Linked DNA regions of Homo sapiens: regions 1, 2, 3, 4, 5 and 6 are each linked to region 7. Evidence: promoter capture Hi-C in 16 types of primary human blood cells and fetal thymus (Javierre and others, 2016). All regions are on one chromosome and are shown on one strand. Each heading gives the region's core, a stretch centred on a gene start or on the middle of the fragment in contact. The rest is flanking DNA. Distances are from core to core; before and after follow the strand shown. Region 1 overlaps TCERG1 (transcription elongation regulator 1). Region 2 overlaps TCERG1 (transcription elongation regulator 1). Region 3 has its middle 13 kb from the start of GPR151. Region 4 has its middle 130 kb from the start of PRELID2. Region 5 overlaps TCERG1 (transcription elongation regulator 1). Region 6 has its middle 150 kb from the start of PRELID2. Region 7 holds the start of PLAC8L1 (PLAC8 like 1).

Evidence for each region. Contacts are between HindIII fragments. The CHiCAGO score rates a contact against its expected background, and 5 or more counts as called.
Region 1: a fragment that was not itself captured here is called in contact with the fragment with the promoter of PLAC8L1 in region 7 in 3 of 17 cell types (naive B cells, activated CD4 T cells and non-activated CD4 T cells); the score reaches 5.7 in naive B cells.
Region 2: a fragment that was not itself captured here is called in contact with the fragment with the promoter of PLAC8L1 in region 7 in 2 of 17 cell types (activated CD4 T cells and non-activated CD4 T cells); the score reaches 6.9 in activated CD4 T cells.
Region 3: a fragment that was not itself captured here is called in contact with the fragment with the promoter of PLAC8L1 in region 7 in 3 of 17 cell types (non-activated CD4 T cells, total B cells and naive CD8 T cells); the score reaches 6.0 in non-activated CD4 T cells.
Region 4: a contact is called between a fragment that was not itself captured here and the fragment with the promoter of PLAC8L1 in region 7, in 1 of 17 cell types (erythroblasts). The highest score is 7.5, in erythroblasts.
Region 5: a fragment that was not itself captured here is called in contact with the fragment with the promoter of PLAC8L1 in region 7 in 7 of 17 cell types (non-activated CD4 T cells, monocytes, activated CD4 T cells and 4 more); the score reaches 7.6 in non-activated CD4 T cells.
Region 6: a contact is called between a fragment that was not itself captured here and the fragment with the promoter of PLAC8L1 in region 7, in 3 of 17 cell types (erythroblasts, megakaryocytes and M0 macrophages). The highest score is 8.4, in erythroblasts.

What each region holds. Positions count from the first base shown.
Region 1 is chr5:146,507,866-146,510,596 of GRCh38, forward strand. It overlaps TCERG1 (transcription elongation regulator 1), which reads left to right. Exons shown (of 23, transcript NM_001382548.1): 21 at 8-91; 22 at 1,280-1,380; 23 at 2,576-2,731. Among named protein-coding and RNA genes, the nearest start is that of GPR151, 7.0 kb to the right of the region's middle. The HindIII fragment of the contact is 1,917 bases long and covers 313-2,229 here.
Region 2 is chr5:146,487,935-146,490,634 of GRCh38, forward strand. All of the region lies in intron 15 of TCERG1 (transcription elongation regulator 1), which reads left to right. Among named protein-coding and RNA genes, the nearest start is that of GPR151, 27 kb to the right of the region's middle. The HindIII fragment of the contact is 5,317 bases long and covers 1-2,700 here.
Region 3 is chr5:146,527,970-146,530,869 of GRCh38, forward strand. No RefSeq gene overlaps it. Among named protein-coding and RNA genes, the nearest start is that of GPR151, 13 kb to the left of the region's middle. The HindIII fragment of the contact is 4,804 bases long and covers 1-2,900 here.
Region 4 is chr5:145,701,187-145,704,097 of GRCh38, forward strand. It overlaps a transcript of PRELID2 not described here. Among named protein-coding and RNA genes, the nearest start is that of PRELID2, 130 kb to the right of the region's middle. The HindIII fragment of the contact is 9,480 bases long and covers 1-2,911 here.
Region 5 is chr5:146,464,448-146,467,177 of GRCh38, forward strand. The region is part of intron 5 of TCERG1 (transcription elongation regulator 1); the gene reads left to right. Among named protein-coding and RNA genes, the nearest start is that of TCERG1, 18 kb to the left of the region's middle. The HindIII fragment of the contact is 3,016 bases long and covers 1-2,730 here.
Region 6 is chr5:145,682,576-145,685,573 of GRCh38, forward strand. It overlaps a transcript of PRELID2 not described here. Among named protein-coding and RNA genes, the nearest start is that of PRELID2, 150 kb to the right of the region's middle. The HindIII fragment of the contact is 2,395 bases long and covers 293-2,687 here.
Region 7 is chr5:146,104,326-146,107,228 of GRCh38, forward strand. It overlaps PLAC8L1 (PLAC8 like 1), which reads right to left and starts at 1,252. Exons shown (of 4, transcript NM_001029869.3): 1 at 1-1,252. The HindIII fragment of the contact is 7,482 bases long and covers 1-2,903 here.

The DNA.
Region 1 (2,731 bases), core at 21-2,520, 400 kb after region 7:
TTCAAAGATTACCTTAACATCCACGTGGAAAGAAGTAAAAAAAATCATTAAGGAAGATCCTCGATGTATTAAGTTCTCCTCCAGTGACAGGGTAAGAGGATTTTGTGTCGAGATTTACTGTCAGTCTATAAATACTTAAATCGGGGCCTAACAGCACTACTATCTTAACCAAAATGAAGTTGATTGTTTTAAGTGAATTACTTTTAAGTGTATGAGAAGTAAATCTGAATTTTAAGTTTATGTATTGTTTCTTGCATGATAAATTAGCAAGACAGCACAATAGAAAGTTTAAAATTTTAGTACTTGGGGTGAAGCTTGTATTTTAGGATCTTAGAAATTTAATGAAGCTGCAGTTTTATTTTAGTCAGGTACCACTAGACAGACATATTTAGGCTGGCAATTGGTACCAAACTATCAAAGCACTTGACTCTTAAGCCAAACAGAGCCCTGTAATGAGATCGCTAGTTCTCATATGCTTCAAGGTCTGAAACAGTGAATGATGTCAAGAAAAGTGTTGTTTACTACAGTCCATTTTATCCCTAGGCCTTTTATTTGTTTTCTTTTACATCATTCCCCTTTCCTGGTTGGTTTCTGTAGGTCTGGGCATCTTTTATAAAAACTCATAAATCTAATATTCTTCCCCCTCAAAGTCTATTGGATTGTAGATGTTTGGACCATAAAATATGCATGACTGGGAAAGAGGGGTAGACCCAGTCTCAGTTTCTAACTTTTCTGACTGTTTAGAATTGATAATAAAGTCTTTTTTAAGTCCAAAGAGTTTATTCATCTTATTACTTTTGGCTTGCCAGAAAGCTAAATGCTCATTACTGTGTAAGTTAAGTATTGAGTGTTAACCTACAGTTGCTGTATCCACAAATTACTCTTTTTGTTCTTGAAGTTAAAAATACAGTGTGCAGGAAGTGAACACTTAATCCTTAATATCCTTATTTTTAAGTGTCCACCTCATGAGGTTGTTGTGAAGATTGAAGTAGATGATCCTCATAAAATGCTCAGCAGTGTAGCACATAGCAAGTTCTCAAGTTTTAGCCACTACTAATTTATGATTCCTCATTCTTTCTATTTGCCGCAAAAATGAGCCTTGCAAATTGTGATTTAATGAATTTTATATATGAACAAAATGTACCCTGTTGCCTTTTTCTTTTGAATTTTAAATTTTATTATGTGACTTACACATTACTGTTTAATAAATAATTGATGTTTATTTTGGAATTAGTGGGTTTTATTTCCATAATCTCAACTTTTTTTTTTTTATTAACAGAAAAAACAAAGAGAATTTGAAGAATATATCAGAGACAAATATATCACAGCCAAAGCTGACTTCAGGACGCTTTTGAAAGAGACCAAATTTATAACATATAGGTGTGTGCAATGAAATGTTTCATATTGGCAGTCATTCTCTTTACTAGTCTTTACTCTAATGGTCAGAGCATTCTTTGCATTCACACACATGTTGACATTATTAATTTTTAGGGATAAGAAGATACCAACTTCTGTCCAAAGTCAAATACAGCCCATATCTACCATACTTTTTTTTTTTTTTAAAGAAAGGGCCCAGATGTCAATTCTTATTTTGTGTTACCCACCCATCCAGTTTTGAATACATACCTTTTTTTTTTTTTTACTTCACCGCTTTTTTTAGGAATACCCTCAACTATATAAGAATTGTATTTCATGAAGAGACTTTTAAAATAATCTTTCACTATCAGTTATCTTTGCCTCCTCTGAAGACTATTCAGTGTGGTTAGATCATTCTAAAGCATGAAATCATCTATTTAAGCTCAGCATAAACATTTTTTTTTCCCTCAGAGGAAAGCATTTTGCTGGGTACATTTAAATAAAAATTGTAAATTATGAAATCAGAGCCTTTAAACAAGATTTCTCTGTAGCAAACCCAACAGTTCTTCACCCCTAACAATTTATCATCAGGAAAACAATTTCGCATTGCTTACCAGTCAGTATGCAGGAAACCATTTTTGTTTCATGCTCCAGCTTTTCTTCTTTAAGAGAGAAATTTGAAACATCTTAATAAAGGGTATGTGCACGGGAGGCTAGATAGTGCTGAGGGTGTGGTTTTTAGATATTTTGTCATTTGGATTTTTTGGTCAGGATCCTTAATGTTTTGCATCAGCTTGGGCTTTTAAATTAGATGTGAAGTAAGACTTCTTTCTACATTTTTATAGTTAATTTAGTGAAAGATGTGAAAGTGAAAGCTTGTGAAAGATGCTGGGATTGGCAGCCCCGCAGACTGAAGTCCTCTGTTCATCCACAGAACAGGTACAGCACGGGCAAGATTTACCCACCCACCCTCAGCCCTGATCTGGAGGGACCACCACTAGGGGTGGGAGGGTAATTCAGCTTCTGAGGCCCTTTCACTCCTTGGAGTCTTTGCTGAGGCGACTTACAAAGGTGACCACTGCCGTGAAATTTTTCTTAAAAAAAAAAAAAAAAAAAAAAATGGAAACACAATTAGGAACTAGATGGACATTTCCAGCTCATTTCTGAAAGACCTGTGAACAGCAGTCAGTAATTCTTGGACTTCTTTTTCTTATTTCAGATCCAAAAAATTAATCCAAGAATCAGATCAGCACCTGAAAGATGTAGAAAAAATTTTACAGAATGACAAACGGTATCTAGTACTGGACTGTGTGCCAGAGGAGAGGCGTAAACTGATTGTGGCATATGTTGATGACCTGGATCGCCGGGGTCCACC
Region 2 (2,700 bases), core at 41-2,540, 380 kb after region 7:
GAAATTAATCCATATATCTATAGGCAACTTATTTTGACAAAGGTGCCAAGAACACTCACTGTGGCAAGAACAGTCTCTTCAATAAATGATGCTGGGAAAACTGGAAATCTATATGCAGAAGAAATGAAATTAGAACCCCACCTCTTAGCCTATCTGAAAATCAACTCAAAATAGATCAAAGACCTACATATATGACCTGAAATGATAAAACTACTAGAAAAAAACCATAGAGGAAATAATTCCAGACATTGACTGGGAAAAGATTTTACAAATAAGACCTCAAAAGCACAAGCAAGAATAAACAAATGGGGTTACATCAAATTAAAACAGTTCTCCATAGCAAGGGAAACAACAGTGAAGACATCCTACAGAATGGGAGAAAATATTTGCTAACTACTTATTTGATAGGGAATTAAATGTCCAAAATGTACAAGGAACTCAGTCATCCCAACAGAAAAAAACAGATCTTACTAACAAATGGGCAGATGATCTGAACAGACATTTCTCAAAACATACAAATGGCCAATAAATATATGAAAAAATGCTCAACATCACTAATCATTGGGGAAATGCAAATCAAAACAGCAGTGAGGTGTCTCACTCAGTTAGGATGACTTACATAAAAGAGGAAGAAATAACGAATACTGGCAAGGATACTCAGAAAAGGGAACTCTTTATATACTGTTGGTTAGAATTTAAACTAGTATATCCACTATGGAAAACAGTATGGAGGTTCCTCGAAAAACTAAAAACAGAACAACGATATGATCCAGCAATCCCCCTATCAGGTATGTATTGAAAGGAAAAGACATCATTATATTGAAGAGATATCTGTACCCTAATGTTTACTGTAGCACTGTTCACAGTAACCAAGATACAGAATCAACCTAGGTGTCCAACAACAGATGACTGGATAAAGAAAATGTGGTTAGCCATAAAAAAGAATGAAATCCTGTCATTTGCAGCAACATCGATGGAACTGGAAGTCATGTTAAGTGAAATAAGCCAAGAACAGAAAGATAAACATCTTATGTTTTCACACATGTGGAAGCAAAAGAAAGTTGATGTCATAGAAGTCAAAAGTAGAACAGAGGCTACTGAAGGCTGAGAGGGGTAGGGAGAACTTGGGAGGATAGGAAGAGATTTGTTAAAGGATACATAATTAAAACTGGATAGGAAGATTAAGTCCTGGCGTTGTGTAGCCCTGTAGGATGACTGGTTAACAATAGTAAGTAGTTTCGAGTAGCCAGAAGGAGGATATTAAACGTTTTTCCAACACAAATGATAAATGTTTGAGATTGATATGCTAATTACCTTGATCTCATCACTACATGATATGTATTTAAACACATTTCGATTGCACATGTATTGAAACACAGTAACCCCATGAATATGTACAATTATTATTTGTCAATTAAAAAAATCCCTGCCCTTGAACTCTAAGAGAAAACACCAAAATAAACTTTTAAATATCTCATTTGTTATTCAGAGCTTTTTAATATTGACAGTATTACAGTATGGTAATATGTTACCAACATGATTACTCGGAATTGTCAACCATCTGGGCCACTGTTACTGAATAATTTGTCATTGAATCAGTGTGAAATTAAAAATATGAGAATCAAATAATGGAGACTTACTTTTAGTAAATGTATTTTGAAACAGAAAAGATAAAATCATAAGTGAAATTTCACAAAATGAATATATCATGATCCAAAAAATGGAACATTCCAAGCACTCCAGAGCTGCCTTGAAGGCTTAAAGGGTATAGCCCCTTAATATACATTTTTGTTCATGCCTATAAAAGTGAACTTAACAGAATTATTTTTAAAATTTACTCATTTTCATTGTATTATGAAATTTTGTTCATGAGTTGAAGTTATCAGAAAATAACCACTTAACATAGGGAACATAAAGCCAAGCGTATTGGAAAGCATGACACAAATTAGGAGCAACTTGGAAGCATAACACAACCCCTAATTTTCTATGAGATATTAATCTTAGAGAGTGATTCCTAACCTTGGTCTGGGGTAGCCCAGCAGAGGGAATACGAAGTTCTTTCTAGATTCTCAAAGGAAAGTTAATACAAATTCCCTTGAATTTTAGGTATCATTTAATATTTTATTTATAAGTAAGTATATACTGAGAAGGGAGTTGGAAACAACTTTCTCCCTCTCTTCAGCATGCAAATACTTTCAAAAGGTTTTCTGCAATGCTATACTTAGAGGAAATTGAAGATGACTTACATGTCTAGCAGGGGACTGGTCAGGTAATCACAGATATGGTAGTCCCTCCTTATCTGTGGAGGATATGTTCCAAGACACCCAGTGGATGAAGATTGGTAGACATATGTGGATTGACTTGGGAAGATGTCGAAGGTATTTTGGAACATTTTGTTGTACTTGTTATAAAGATGTTCATAGAGCTGTTCCCTACATAGTAAGTCTTTTCCTTTTTGTAGCTTCTTGAGAGAATGTGCAGGGAAAGTTTATTTGAGGCCTAACATACTTGGAAAAACCCTTATTGTACCCTTATTTGGAATTGTTTGGCTAGCTAAAGGCATTGCTCTGCTTCTAGTGTTCGTTGTTTTTGAAGCCATTCCTATTCCTTTATATGTGAATCTGTTTTTCTTTCTCTATAAGTATGTAGCTCTCTTAGTCCCTAGTATTCTGAAATGCCATAGTGGTATTTTTCCTAGAG
Region 3 (2,900 bases), core at 351-2,850, 420 kb after region 7:
ATGTCCCTGTTTCTTGTAAAAGGCAAGTCAAGGCAGGGAGAGAGGGAAGATATTTGATGAATCAGATAAATCAAGGTTTTAGATTTTTCTATTATTAACACAGTGGAAGCAATGGAAGTCTGAGGTATGGCTCACGAAGAGTTCATAATCTATACAGGTAAAAGGAAGCCATTGATTGTACGAGGTAGTGTAGTTGAAGATGTCTGCAAACTTTCAAGTGTCAGACATATGCATAATTAATGACTGCCAATGTTTTGTGCATTTGCAAGGAATATGACAATTATCATGAATAAAACGAGGGATCCATTCAGCCCCAAATCCTCATTAGTGCTCATACAGTATGTATAACTTTGCATTCTCATTTATTTGTATTTTCCTCATTTCTAGTCATTTAAAATAATATGTTCATGTAATTGCACAATTCCACAGCTCTACTGAGATGCTGCTGCCGAGTCTGAACCGTTGATTAGTGGGCACTGCCCCCTTGTGATAACTGAAAATGCTGATTGTTCAGCTGATGGAGAAAAACTGAATTTGGTGTTCGGAGGGCAGTTTGTGGTCACAGTGAGTAGCATATAAAAGTAGAGGTTGAGAGAAAGCTAGGGACTGTAATTGAATGGGACATGGATGGAGCTATTGAAAAATATTTTTCCTGTAATCCCAGCACTTTGGGAGGCTGAGGTGGGTGGATCATGAGATCAGGAGATCGAGACCATCCTGGCTAACACGGTCAAACCCCTTCTCTACTAAAAATACAAAAAATTAGTCAGGCATGGTGGCGGGTGCCTGTAGTCCCAGCTACTCGGGAGGCTGAGGCAGGAGAATGGTGTGAACCTGGGAGTGAGCCAAGATAGCGCCACTGCACTCCAGCCTGGGCGGCAGAGCGAGACTCCATCTCAAAAAAAAAAAAAAAATGGAAAATATTTTTAATTAGCATAAGCATATTTGAGTATTATAGGCAGAGGAAAATGAACACATAGATAAAAAATGATTCAGGATGTCTGTGAGAGAGGAGGTGTACAACCCTCTCCTAAATTGTGGTTTCAGAACCAGTGGCGTCCGCACTGCTTGGACACTTGTTAGAAATGCAGAATCCCAGGCCCCACCCAAGACCTCCTGAATCAGAATCTGAATTTCACAAAAACTTCAGCCGATTCATCTCCCTGGCAAAGTGTGAGATTCTCTGGTGCACAGCAGAGCGGAAGTGTTTGGCACATGGACCTTAGACTTATTGGGTTGGAATCCCAGCTCTGCCACTGACTAGAGTGTGGGAATTTACACACTCTATTTGGGAAGTTACATTTTTGGGCCTCAGTTTCCTCAGCTACAAGTGAGGAATGATATTAATACATTTCTCATGGGATTCTTGTAAGGCCACCATCACCACTGCCATCACCATCATTGCTAATGTTTAATGAGGGTTTACCACATTTCAGGCAATGCTGAAGCACCGTTCATGAATTCATTAGTGAGATCACGAAGGATAAACACCTGCCAAATGGTACGCGCTCATCAACTGTTAAAAACTGACATTTTTGAAACAGACAGGAGACAGGCGAATACTGGGTAGAAGAGGGCAGTTCCCTGGCAAACACCTCACTCTCAAGCATGGAAACCTGCAACCTTAATGGGAACAGGCATTCCTGATTTTGTGCCCAAAAGTTGCCTTTTGGCCTGCCACACCCCACCCCATCCTGTACCCATATAAACCCCAAACTCCAGGCTCCACAAGCAGATGAGGAGATGAACAGGGGAATGGCAGAACAGCGTGCAAGAGAAAAGAGAAGGAATGTCTGAACACTGAGAGGAGTTTGGCCGGGGACGGTCAGAGAGGAGATCAGCCGCTGGATGGCCAAACGTCAGGGGAAGATCATCTTCCCACTCCATCCCCCTTCCAGTTCCCCATCCATCCCAATGAGAGCCACCTTCACCATTCAGTAAAACTTCCACATTCATCCTGCAAGTCCATGTGCGACCTGATTCTTCCTGGATGCCAGACAAGGACCTGGGTACCAAGAGGCACTGAGCTGTTTAACACTTAAGCCGTCCATGGATGGCAAGGCTAAACTGTAACAAAAGCCAGGCCCACTTGGGCTTTGGGAGTTGCAGTCACCCACCCCTAGATGCTACCATGGGGCCAGAGCCCAGGGGCACTCACTCTGGCTCCTGCACCTGCCGATCTGTGTGCTTCCCCTCCTGTAAGGGATTTGAGCCCACAAGCCACACCCCTGTCACATGTCCTGCAAGAGGGGTTGGGGAGTTCTCCTGTTTCACTTTTGGTTATTATAATCACTATAAAGCATGGTGTTTGAGCAAGTATATTGGAATGGACTATCTCAACTGAAGAACTAAAGACTGTGGCTTTGGCAAGTGGAGGCAGGATATTGAGGCCTGCTGGGAGTAGTAGTTTGGAGGGCTGAATTCTGAACCCCGGACCCACTATTTGGATTATTGATTATCGCAGAAAGGATGCTTTCTAATGAAATCAATTTTCAGAGAGCTTGCATAATCTAGAAAAGAACAAGAAAAACTGTTTAAAATTGTGGTTCTCAAATATTTTGGCCTTTGGACCCCTTTACACTCTTAAAAATTATTGAGGATCCCAAAGAGCTTTTGTTTATGTGAGTTATATGTATTAATATTTACCTTATTAGAACCTAAAGCTGAGGAAAATTTAAAATATTAACTGATTTTAAAACAATAGTATCCAACCCATTACATGTTAATATAAGTAATACTTTCATTAGAAAGAACTACACTTCCTAAAACAAAAACATTTAGTAAGAAGAGTGAAATTGTTTTATGTTTTTGCAGATCTCATTAACATCTGGCTTGACAGAATGGAGCTAGATTCTCTTATCTGCTTTTGCATTCAATCTGTTGCAATATCACATATCATG
Region 4 (2,911 bases), core at 252-2,751, 400 kb before region 7:
TATTTAAAATGTAGGTGACAGAGTCTGAATCCAAACCCAGGCACCTTGGCAACAGAGGAAGCATGCTTAACCTTCACACCGACTGCACTGCCTCTCATTTGACCCAAAGTATACTTTCAACTTAATTAAAAATGACATTCCAGTAAATGATTTTCATGGCATAGTTGATAAGAGAGAATTTGACCATATAAAAATTTTAGACAACATTATAAAATCTAGAAAAAAATTAATGTAATTGCTTAGTTCAGCAGAAGCTGAAAAAGGCCTCAGGACCCTGAACAATAGTATTGATTTTAAAAAGAAATTCTCTATTTTTTGAGAATGCAAGTCTCCTAATGACTATCGACCAACAAATGAGCAAAGAGGTTGGTGGAGGAGTTTGATGTAATTCCCTGTGTCAAACCACAAGGTGTCACTTAGCATTTGACAACTATGCCATCAACAAATCACAGCAACAATTTCTAAAAATCAATAAATGACCTGTAAATCATTATCTTTTTAATGAACTATGTGCATTTCAGCTTGTATCACTTGGTAAGCAGTTTAATAATTTAGATTAGAGAATTATAAAATATACATTGAAGGCCGGGCGCAGTGGCTCACCCCTGTAATCCCAGCACTTTGGGAGGCCAAGGTGGGCAGATCACCTGAGGTCAGGAGTTCAAGACCAGCCTGACCAATGTGGTGAAACCCTGTCTCTACTAAAAATACAAAATTAGCCGGGCGTGGTGGCACATGCCTGTAATCCCAGGTACTCGGGAGGCCAAGACAGGAGAAATGCTTAAACCTGGGAGGTGGAGGTTGTGGTGAGCTGAGATCATGCCATTGCACTCCAGTCTGGGCAATGAGCAAAACTCTGTCTCAGGAAAAAAAAAAATATATATATACACACACACACATATATATATATTTAATGTTTTTATTAATATATTGATTTATACATTAGCGTATTACTGTAATGCTTAAGTATTTTTAATGCCATCCCTATAAACACTTATAAAAAGGATATTTTCATAAGTATGTATGAGAGTGAGCTAGCAAATTTATGATCATCTGAGTATGGTGTTCAAGCACCACTACTTTGCACAAAACAGCCCTTCAAATCTAGTCATCACACAGACCACTCCTTGTCTCATCTGTGTCTGAAGGTAGAATCATGCACAGAGAAATAGGACATCAAGATAAAAGTAAAGGAACTATAGTAGATGGGTTAAATGTGTTTTTCTTTTCTCTGTTTCTTTTTTCTTATTTTGGCTCTTGGATCCCTCCTTGGGGAAATCAACAATTCCCTACTTCATGTGGTCCTTGCAAAATGCATCAGGATGCTTTCTTTGACATAAATTAAGAAAGAAAGAAAAAAACTCTGACAGCTAGCTTAAAATCTCACACAAGAAGGCAAGAGGTAAAGCAATTCAATGACATTCGGGTCTTCTGTTCTCTAACTAGTTAAGAAACTTGCCTGAAGCACCCCCATGCCCAGCAGACTTCCAATTCATGTTTTGTGTCAATTGGCCAAAATGAGGTCACAAAAATTTGGCTGCTTCTAAACCAAGAAGCACATAGGGAAAGGAATTATCTTAAGTGATACAGACTAATCAAGACTCCCTACCTACCAGGGCACCCCTAATAAAACTTCAGCAGCCAAAAGTCAGAGAAGATACCACTTCTATGTGGGCTTGAGTTCCACAATCACTAGAAAAAAATGTTAAAGGTAGATCTTAAGGAGGAAAGAAAGTCATTTAGCAGATTGATATATAATTATTTCCCTTTCTATTAAAACACAGCAAATACTATCAAATAAAGCAATTACTCAACTCTCAACCCTAACAAAAATGCACACTAGACATGCAAACAGAAAGCTGGGTCCAAGTTGGAAGCTAGATTCACCATTTACTGGTCTGTGCAGCACCCATTGGCCATCAAGTGTCAAGTATACTAAGTCTTTGGAAGAAGCCAGACAAATTACCAAGCAAACACAATCTATTCAGAGCAGAGAGTTAGTAATATTAATTGTATCAGATAGGAATTTTTATGCAAAGTGTTTAAAACTCAGCTGAAATGCCTTAAGCAATTGATCCAGAGTCAGAGTGGGCTTTAAGTGAACTTCGTTGATTCAGCAGTTTAGACATTATTACCAAATACCCTTGATGTCTCATCTTCCTTCTGTCTCTTAGCTCTCCCTTCCATAGGGATTGTTCCATCATCAGATTCCATGTGGTAGACATGCCCCAAATACACACAGTAGCTTCAGCTTTACTCTTATGACAACCAAATAGCTGCCCCAGTTTCAAGCCACACATGCTAACCCTAAATGCTCCAGGGAAAAGAAAATGTCAGTTCCAACAGCACATAGCCAGGTCTTGGGATCCCTTTCATTGTCTTGAAATGGGACATTTGACTAAACCCAAACTAATAACTGCAGCTAGGGAAAGAAGATATAAATTGGCTTAGGTCCATTACAGTCTAATCCTTGAACTTTGTGACAGATCAACTCCACACCAAAATCATATAGAAAAGAGAGATGTTCAAGATATAGTTAGAGGGAGAAAGGGAGAAGACAGGAATGGGTACTGGAGCATCACACAACAAATTTCCCCTGCACCTGTCCTCCACACCTGAGTGCATAAAGAACTCTTCCCAGCAAGTCTCAAATTTTCAGGTCTCTTTCACAGCTACGTTTTACAAAATCACAAGACTCATTTTACTCATGCAACTTAGAGAGAAAATAAATCCATAAAGTCATGGCATATTTTATTCAACAACTGCCCCAGAATTAGAGTCACAGTACCTGAGGTGTCTTCCTCAGTTGGTTCAGAAGCAGGTTTTGTGGTTAAAGTTCTCCCTGATGAAACATCATTTCAAGGGGGTTTCTGGATGTGAGCTCACTGGGCTGTAACCATTGCTAATCGAG
Region 5 (2,730 bases), core at 138-2,637, 360 kb after region 7:
CATCATTTAAAAGTTTAAATTGTTATGGTGAATTAATGTGTTATATTGTCTTAAGAGAAGTCATTAAAACTAGAGAAAGAATTAAGAAATATTGTGGAGTGGAATTCTTACCATAGGGTTTAAAAATGATAGTGTTGGGCATTCCAAATTTGAATGCATTAGTTTTTGTCAAACACATTTAATCCTTGATCCATGGTTCATTCTCCTTGTGTTATAGTTGAAAGTATTGGTACCTTAGAGAGGTCAGGTTCACAGGGCTAGTTTGTAGCAAAGATGAATAGAACTTAGGCCTCTTGTCTCTCAAGTTCACATTCCATCCACTTATTGCTACTTTCTTATACTCCTTTCTGTGTAAGAATACAGTTGTGATACAGCTATTTCTTAGATTTGCACACATCTTAATTATCACTATTGCACTGGTTGTCTTTTTCTTTGTGACCACTCTGAAAAGGACACCTTCAGATATACCTTGTCAAGAAAGAAACCAAAAATTTCAGGTTTTTTTTTTAATTTGGAAAACCTTGTATACATTGTTGATGTAGTGTTAGATAATTAAATGCCCATTATGTGGTGTTTAAGAAATTCAAATCATTTAAAAAGAAAACAAAAGATGTTTTCCCTACTATTAGGGATTATCCCTTTTCTAGATTAAATTTAAGACAAGCAGCTGGATACTTTTCTCTATGTGTAATTTTTCTGGGAAAACTAAATCATAGATGGAGAATAGCCTGATATTTGTCACAACCTCTTTTTGTAATTTTGGTCTGCTTTAGGGTTAAGGACAGTATTAAGACCAGATCGTGGATTCTGAGTGATCTCAAGGAGTTGGGGTTGCTCATTTTGTAGAGGGAAGATTGAGAGGTAGCATGATAATGTTGTTGAAGTATTTTGAAAGGCTGTCATTTGAACAACTTTTGCTTTTCTTTAGAGGTTCTTATTAGGACTAATGGATGAAAGGTACACAATAGCAAAATGTATTTCTATAGAAAGTAGAAGTTTCTCACAATAAAATCCCTCTGGCTCTAGCTTCATTTTGATGTCATATTTTCCCCAAAATATGATGACATATTTTGATGTCATATGGAGCAAGCATATCCTTGCTCCATCATTAAAAAGATTTGGACAGGTGGTGGTGACCATTTGAGTCACCAAATGAAGCAGTACCTGTGAAGTTTGGCAGTAGAAGTCATTCAATAAACAGTAGCCATTAGTGACATTTTGGGGGTCAGTTGGAAGAGAACTTGAATTGGATAGTCTAAGATTTCTTTGGAGAGAGTGAGTGTCATACAAAGTGATATATTAGGCTGGGCACGGTGGCTTACGCCTGTAATCCCAGCACTTTGGGAGGCCGAGGTGGGTGGATCAGCTGAGGTCAGGAGTTCGAGACTAGCCTCAACATGGAGAAACCCCATCTCTACTAAAAATACAAAATTAGCCGGGCGTGGTGGTGCATGCCCAGCTACTCGGGAGGCTGAGGCAGGAGAATTTCTTGAACCTGGGAGGTGGAGGTTGCAGTGAGCCGAGATCGCGCCATTGCACTGCAGCCTGGGCAACAAGAGCGAAACTCTGTCTCAAAAAAAAAAAAAAAAAAGATATATTAGCATCAAATATTAGTTTGTTTATTAAGACTTTTTGGTATTGATATTTGTTCACTTTTCTCATTTTCCCTTTTAACTCAGTCCTACAAGGTGTTTAGTAAAAAACAAGGACAAAGAAGACTTGTTTTTTTCTTCCCCAAATCTTTGGTTTTACAAACAATGAGATTTGTGTCTCCTGGTTTTTGCCTTTTAATTCAATTCAGCAATAAGGTGAATGGGAAGGATTTGTATGTAATTTGTCTTGGAGGCTTAATTTCTCTTTGAAATAGTATTGTATGGGTCTAATGAGGATGATTGAGGAACGGATGGTCAAACAAGATAAAGGGAAGGAGTGGAAGAATTAGGTAAAATACAAGAGTAGGGGGTGGAGTTTGGATAAATGGGTCTAGGATTATAGGAGTTCTACTTCTAAAACTATAAAATCTTATCTGGAATTTTAAGAAACTTAACTGTCTGTGACATTGGAATCATCCAAAATGCTGAGTGGAATTTTCTTATTTCTTAGATAATAATTTGAGGACAGAGTTGTAGGAAAATTGAACAAAAGCTCCCTCTAAAAAAAAAGGTTAAAAATTTAGATTTTTATTTTGCGAGTATTCACAATCTGCATGTAATCACTTTGAGAGAAACTTCAGTGTATCTTTTTAGCATGAGAAGAAACACAGGACCTTTCTATATGGTCTGTATGTTGATAGTCAAATAGAAGAGTTCTGCGAGCCCAACTGATTTTTAATAATGGTGGTTAAGCCTATGTATGAATAGATTTGATTTTCTTCTGCATAAGTTGTATAGTTAAAATTATTTATTGGAAGATGGTTTTGGAGAACAGTCTTTGAGAGTAAAGTTCGTATATTCATAAGAATTGAATTTCCTGTGCTGAGTTTAGTAGGTTCAGTGCTCCTGCAGATGGCAGTATTTATACTGATTAAACTTAATCCATGCTGTAACTTCCTTAACCAAATGAATTTTTCCATTGCTTTCTTTCAACATTAGGGAAAATAAAATTATACATATAACTTTATTCAACATGCTTTCATGATCCAATGTTTTTATTTTAGTTTAAAAGTTAATAGAAAGTTTACTTTATTCTTTATATAAAATAGTAATTAAGAAATAAAGGTACTTTTCAATA
Region 6 (2,998 bases), core at 240-2,739, 420 kb before region 7:
GTGGCTCACAGCTTCCTGCCTTGAAGTGCATTTCTAAATGGAAAAACAAGTCCGAGAATGCCAGACCAGGCAGGGCTCTTCATGACAGCAGCCATGAGGAGGGAAATGCTGGTATTCACCATGTGGGAAGGTTAGGTGACACGCTCCCTTCCTGAGGCCACATGTGTACAATATCAAGGTATAAATTAAAGAGCCCAGCAGCGGTTCCTGTTACTTGCCAATGACCATCGAGGTTGATCATTTCACCATATGCAAAGGGCTGGCTGGCTTTCACTTGGCATAAAAATCAAGAAGCTTTTCAACACTGCTGGTTCCAAAACTAACATCATCTTCATGATTATAAGCACAGTGTTACATCATGGGACTAGCAGGGGAGGAAGGCATTGAGAAAATAATCACATAATTAATTTATGATTCTAAATTGTAGCTCATGCTCCAAAGGGGAAAAAAGACCAGAGAGCCACAGAGAAAAATACAGAGCATTGTTTATATTGGGTGAAAGCAGTCAGAGAAGACCAGTATTTCTAGGTAGTACAGAACAGTTAAGAACCTAGGTACTGGTGTCAGAAAGATTTAGATTTGAGCCTGAATTTGTCCTTTACTAGCTCTGTGACTTTGACTTTAGGTAAGTCATTTTCTTCTTCAAGCCTGAGTTCTCCCATTTGCAAAATAAGGATAATACCTAGATAGTGACTAAAGATGTAATGATGTGTTCTATACTACCCCTAGAATAGATTCAGCAATCAACAAAACTGTTATTATTGAACATGATAGTCCAAAAAATATCATAACCAGTATACTGGTGTGCTAGGGCTACTGCACCAAATACTACAAACTGGATGGCTTAAATAATAAAACTTTATCTTCTCATAGTTCTGAAGGCTAGAAGTCCAAAACCAAGATGTCAGGATGTTTGGTTTCTTCTGAGGACTCTCTCCTAGACTTTCAGATGGCCACCTTCTCGCTATGTCCTCACATGGCCTCTCCTCTGTGTGCATGCATCCCTAGTATCTCTCTGCATATCTACATTTCCTCTTGTTAAAAGCACACTAGTCACATTGGATTAGGGCCCACCCTAATGCCCTTATTTTGCCTTTATCACTCTTAAAAGGCCTTATCTCCAAATACAGATACTCTCAGATACTGGAGTTTAGGGCTTCAACACATGAATTGTAGGAGAGAGGGAGAACACAGTTCAACCTATAACGACCAGTATGGCATGGAGCTGACCAATCACAAAGGGGGCTGCTTGGTCACTGGCCAGTAGAACGAGCTGCTGATTGTATAGAACAGCAGAGTGCACTGATGCACATTGCTTATTGGTATTATTATTATTACTGAGTTTTAATAGCACTGCCTCTACTCAGGGATATACCAGGTTTGTAAGCAGAGCGACACAAAGTTTTCTAGAGGGGAGATTCCAGGAAGCAAAACAGTCTCCAACAAATGTTAACTTCTACATCCTGCCATGCCTGGAACCGGACAAATACAGAGATGCTTTAGAGCTACCTTGTGAAAAGAGACAAAAGGGGAAGAGCAGGAGGGGGAAGGATAAGAGAGTTAATGGTGACTGAGATTTGAACAAAGACAATGAGGAAGAACATGTATGTAGAGGAGAAAAATGACATGAAAAGAGTCAATAGTCCAGGGGTGAAAGAAGCCTCGATGGGCTGGGCCCTAGCTTTGGTTCTAGTCCAGGCTCAACAAACCAATCTGAACTTTTACGCAATCAGAATAAACTCTTCTTTGTGGACCTCCTTCATGAAATCCTGCTAAAAGAGATTCTTCCTCTTCCTCTCTATCCAAATGGATGCTTTTGTTATCCTGTGTTGTTTCAGACTGTAGGTCGTGGGAGAGAAAGGAAAAAAACCCCACTAAAACCTATCACTCTCTTCTTATTGTTTCCTTGTTCCTCTCTTTGGTTAGCTTTCATTTTGTGCTTGCCCATGTGCAGGCACTGTGCTTCACATTCATGCTTTCATTTAATCCTCATAGTTGTTCTGTTATTATTTCACAGATGAGAAAATATGAGGTTCAGAGATGTTTAGTGACTTGCCAAAGGTCAAACTAAGAGTAAGTGAAGAGCTGGGACTTGAACTTAAATCCATCCCACTTAAAGTCCCTGCTCTTAACCACCATTATCATCCTGTGGCTGTATATTCAGGAAGGAAACACATGGATGAACCAATCCTGGGGGCAGGTAATGACCAGCACCAGCATTTGGAGTACAGATTGTAGTCATGGGTGCTGTTGGCACCACTAAGGCAATAACAGTCATCATGGAGTCTAAGGTCAATGCCAGGATTTGAGGTCACAGCTTTAGGAAAAACTGAAGATGGAAGGAGGCTTCAAAGTCCAGACCAAGGTTGGGGTATAAGACAGATATGAAGAAAGTTGGGCTGTTGGTCTCTGATTTATCTTCCTCCCTCACTGTCCACATCCAATTAATCATCAAGTCTTGTTGCTTCTACTTCCAAAATATTTCTGCCATTCTTCTGCCTGTCCCCATCCTGACTGCCACTATCCCAATACATTGAGAGAATCAGTTAGTCTCTCTGTTTTCAGCTTTGCCCCTAAACCTTTTATTCCACTGCAGTCAGAATTCTTACTCTGAAATATAAATCTAATCCTACCACTTCCCCACTTATGTGGCTTCAGTAGCTTCCCATGGCCTCAAAGGCTTCCAAAGCTTTCAATTACCAAAGCCACCTCTTACCTCCCTGTTTTCACTCTTCCATAAGGCATACTGAACAACTTTCGGTTTCTCTGATGTAATACGCCATGTTCTCTCCAGTCGCTAGGTCTTTGCAAATGTTATTCTTGCTCTCTAGAGCCCAGTTTCTACCCTAATGTTTTCAAGTCTCAGCTTGGACATTGCTTCTTTGCAGAAGCCTTCTCTGGCATAGATAAGAATTTAGAGGACAAACCTAAACCTCATCACATTGAAGTTCCTCCATGACCATTTTTTTCCTACCCTCAACACTCATTACAAAAGCAA
Region 7 (2,903 bases), core at 2-2,501:
TCTTGTCCTTTGGGCTATCCTTTTTCCCTTTGGCAATAAGCTGGTTTCTAAACTTCGGATTAGTCCAAAGTGAAACATCTCTTGAAAGAATGTTCCCTTAATATTCTGGAACCTGAGGTCATAGCAGTGTAACTAACAGACATCTTTTTTCTTTAAAAACAGGTATACACCTAACTGTGGACACATTCATCTTACTAATCTGTAGGGAGATATTGCTGGAGTATAGAGTAAATAGAAGAAAAAGACTTATCTTTGGTGGAAAACTCTTTAAGAGATGCCTCTAGTAAACATTTATCTAGCTAAGTGCCACTTGACCGTTCCTTGGAAGATTCAGAAGGCTGAAAATTTCTGCCATGCCATGTGACTGAGAAGCAGCAGAGACCTCTCTTCATCCCCTGAACTGCTGGTCCAATTCAGCCAGATGATGCAAGTCCCATAGCCAACCCAAAAGCAGGAGCAAAAAAAAGTCTTTCAGCGCAGGTATTGTATTTGAATCCATCTTATGAAAGGTGGTCTCCTCAAGTTTGAGCTATGGTAGATTGTCACAAGCCTCAAAGCCTTTTCAGAACTTCTAGAAATTCTCTGCTCTTCCATTAACTTCATTGATAATGCCAGGAAAGTGGCATTTCTTTCCTACCCAGTCCAGACGGAATCTAGTAACTGAAGCAAGGCTTGCCTGGTGATGTCCTCACAACAGCTCTGAATCCTCAAGGTCTCAGGAGCCTCTGAATCATGCCTCTGGCACATGTCTTATGGAGGTGTGGACCCTAGAAATATTAGGAAATATCCTAAGACAAAAAATTAGGCAAAATTTCACGTTGAGGAAAGGGCTCTGCAATCATAATTTGACATTACATTAGAAAGACATCAGGAGGATACTGCCAATTATATCATATATTCTTTTCATCAGACCCATAGAGAATGGTTGCTTAGGGTTCTGAACTTCAAAGCATTTATTGAACCAGGTTGTTAGGAAAAGCCTATAATACCTTCCAAATCAAGATTCCTCAGACATAGCTTCATAACTGCCTTCAATCATGGGGTTCTGGGCAACTGTCATTGTCTTCTTAACAGTAAGGATGTACCCTACATTAAGGACAGGTATGTTTTTTCTGCTTACTACTCTATTCCAAGTGCTGACCACAGTGTCTGGCACATAAAAAGCACTCAATAATTTGTTGAATAAATGTGCCCTACATGAAAATTCAGGTTTATAAGAATAACAGAAATTAAGAGGTGATTACTAGCTTTGCAAAAAAAAAAAAAAAAAAAAAAAAAGATTTACAGTAAGATTCCTTTGAAGAGTAAACCACCATGGTACATATAAGCTATGACTCCATATTTTTACATTTCATTTGCGCCCAACTTTTCTAATCAAACGTCTATTGTATGAAGTGACTAATCCACATGCTACACAGCTTTTTCATTTAAAAATAAAATGAAAAGAATAGAAAAGGCATGTGCTTTATAAAAGAATGCCAAATATTTATGAAAAAGAAATAATAGCATTAGAATATCACCATTTTGCATAGCCCCAGCATAACAACATATCAGGAAGGAAATTCAGAAGCATTAAAACCATTAGATAAAAAAGATTAGGAACCAAATATTCTCAAGGTGCAAAAATATAACTATTCCACATATTTCTAATTGCAAAAGAGAAAATGTACCTTAACTATGAAAAATTCCAGAAGTACTCAAAATGCATATTTACATTGGAAAGTTCTGAAAGTGTAAGAAAAAAAAAGTACCCTTACAATAAAAGCTCTGGGTGTGATTTTAACAAATATGCCTTTACATCAGAAGGTCCTAGAAGTGATCAAAATGTATCTTTAACATTACCCTTCACCCTTCCTCCATGATTGTAGGTTCCTGAGGCCTCCCCAGCCATGCCTCCTGTATAGCCTGTGGAACTGAGTCAATTAAAACTCTTTTTTAAATAAATTACCCAGTCTCAGGTAGTTTTTTATAGCAGTATAAAAACACACTAGGCCAGATGCAGTGGCTCACACCTGTAATCCCAGCACTTTGGGAGGCTGAGACGGGCAGATCATCTGAGGTCAGGAGTTTCAGACCAGCCTGGCCAACGTGGTGAAACCCCATCTCTACTTAAAAATACAAAAATTAGCCAGGCGTGGTGGCAGGCACTGTAATCCCAGCTACTCAGGAGGCTGAGGCAAGAGGATCGCTTGAACCTGGAAGGCAGAGGTTGCAGTGAGCCAAGATCATTCGACTGCACTCCAGTCTAGATGACAGAGCAAGATTCTGTCTCAAAAAAAAAAAAAAGAAAAAGAAAAGAAAACACACTAATACAAGCTCTATGCACAGCAGAGGGCCATTACAAATCTTATTGATGCTGTAAATTTTGGGGTGAAGTATTTTCTACCTGACTGGGGTCCATATAAACTTCTCCTTTCTCTGACCTCCTAATGGCCCTGGTAACACTGGCCTTGGTCAAATACATTCCTGTTTTCCATGCACGAATTCTTTGTTGTCTAAGTGCAATGAAGATGGAGGCCAGGGCTCTAATTCAACTCTGCTGCTAATACATAGGATCTTGAGCCAGTGACTTTGACCTGTTTCTTCATGTGGCTTCCTTGCTATTCCTTCAGCACACCAGCTACATGCCCCTGCCTCAGGGCAAAAAATGCTTTTGACCACATACGTGCTAACAAAACTACATATGCATTTACCCTCAGACCCACAAGCCCACTTCTACAAATTTACTCTGAAGATATACCTCCACAAAAGTGAAATGACATTATTCATGAGGTTACTCACTATATCATTCCATACACATTCTATAAAATATTAAAAACTTAGAAACAACCTATATGTCCATCCATGGAGACTGGTTGAATAAACTAAGGTACACCTTTACAATAGTATTACATGAGCAAGGA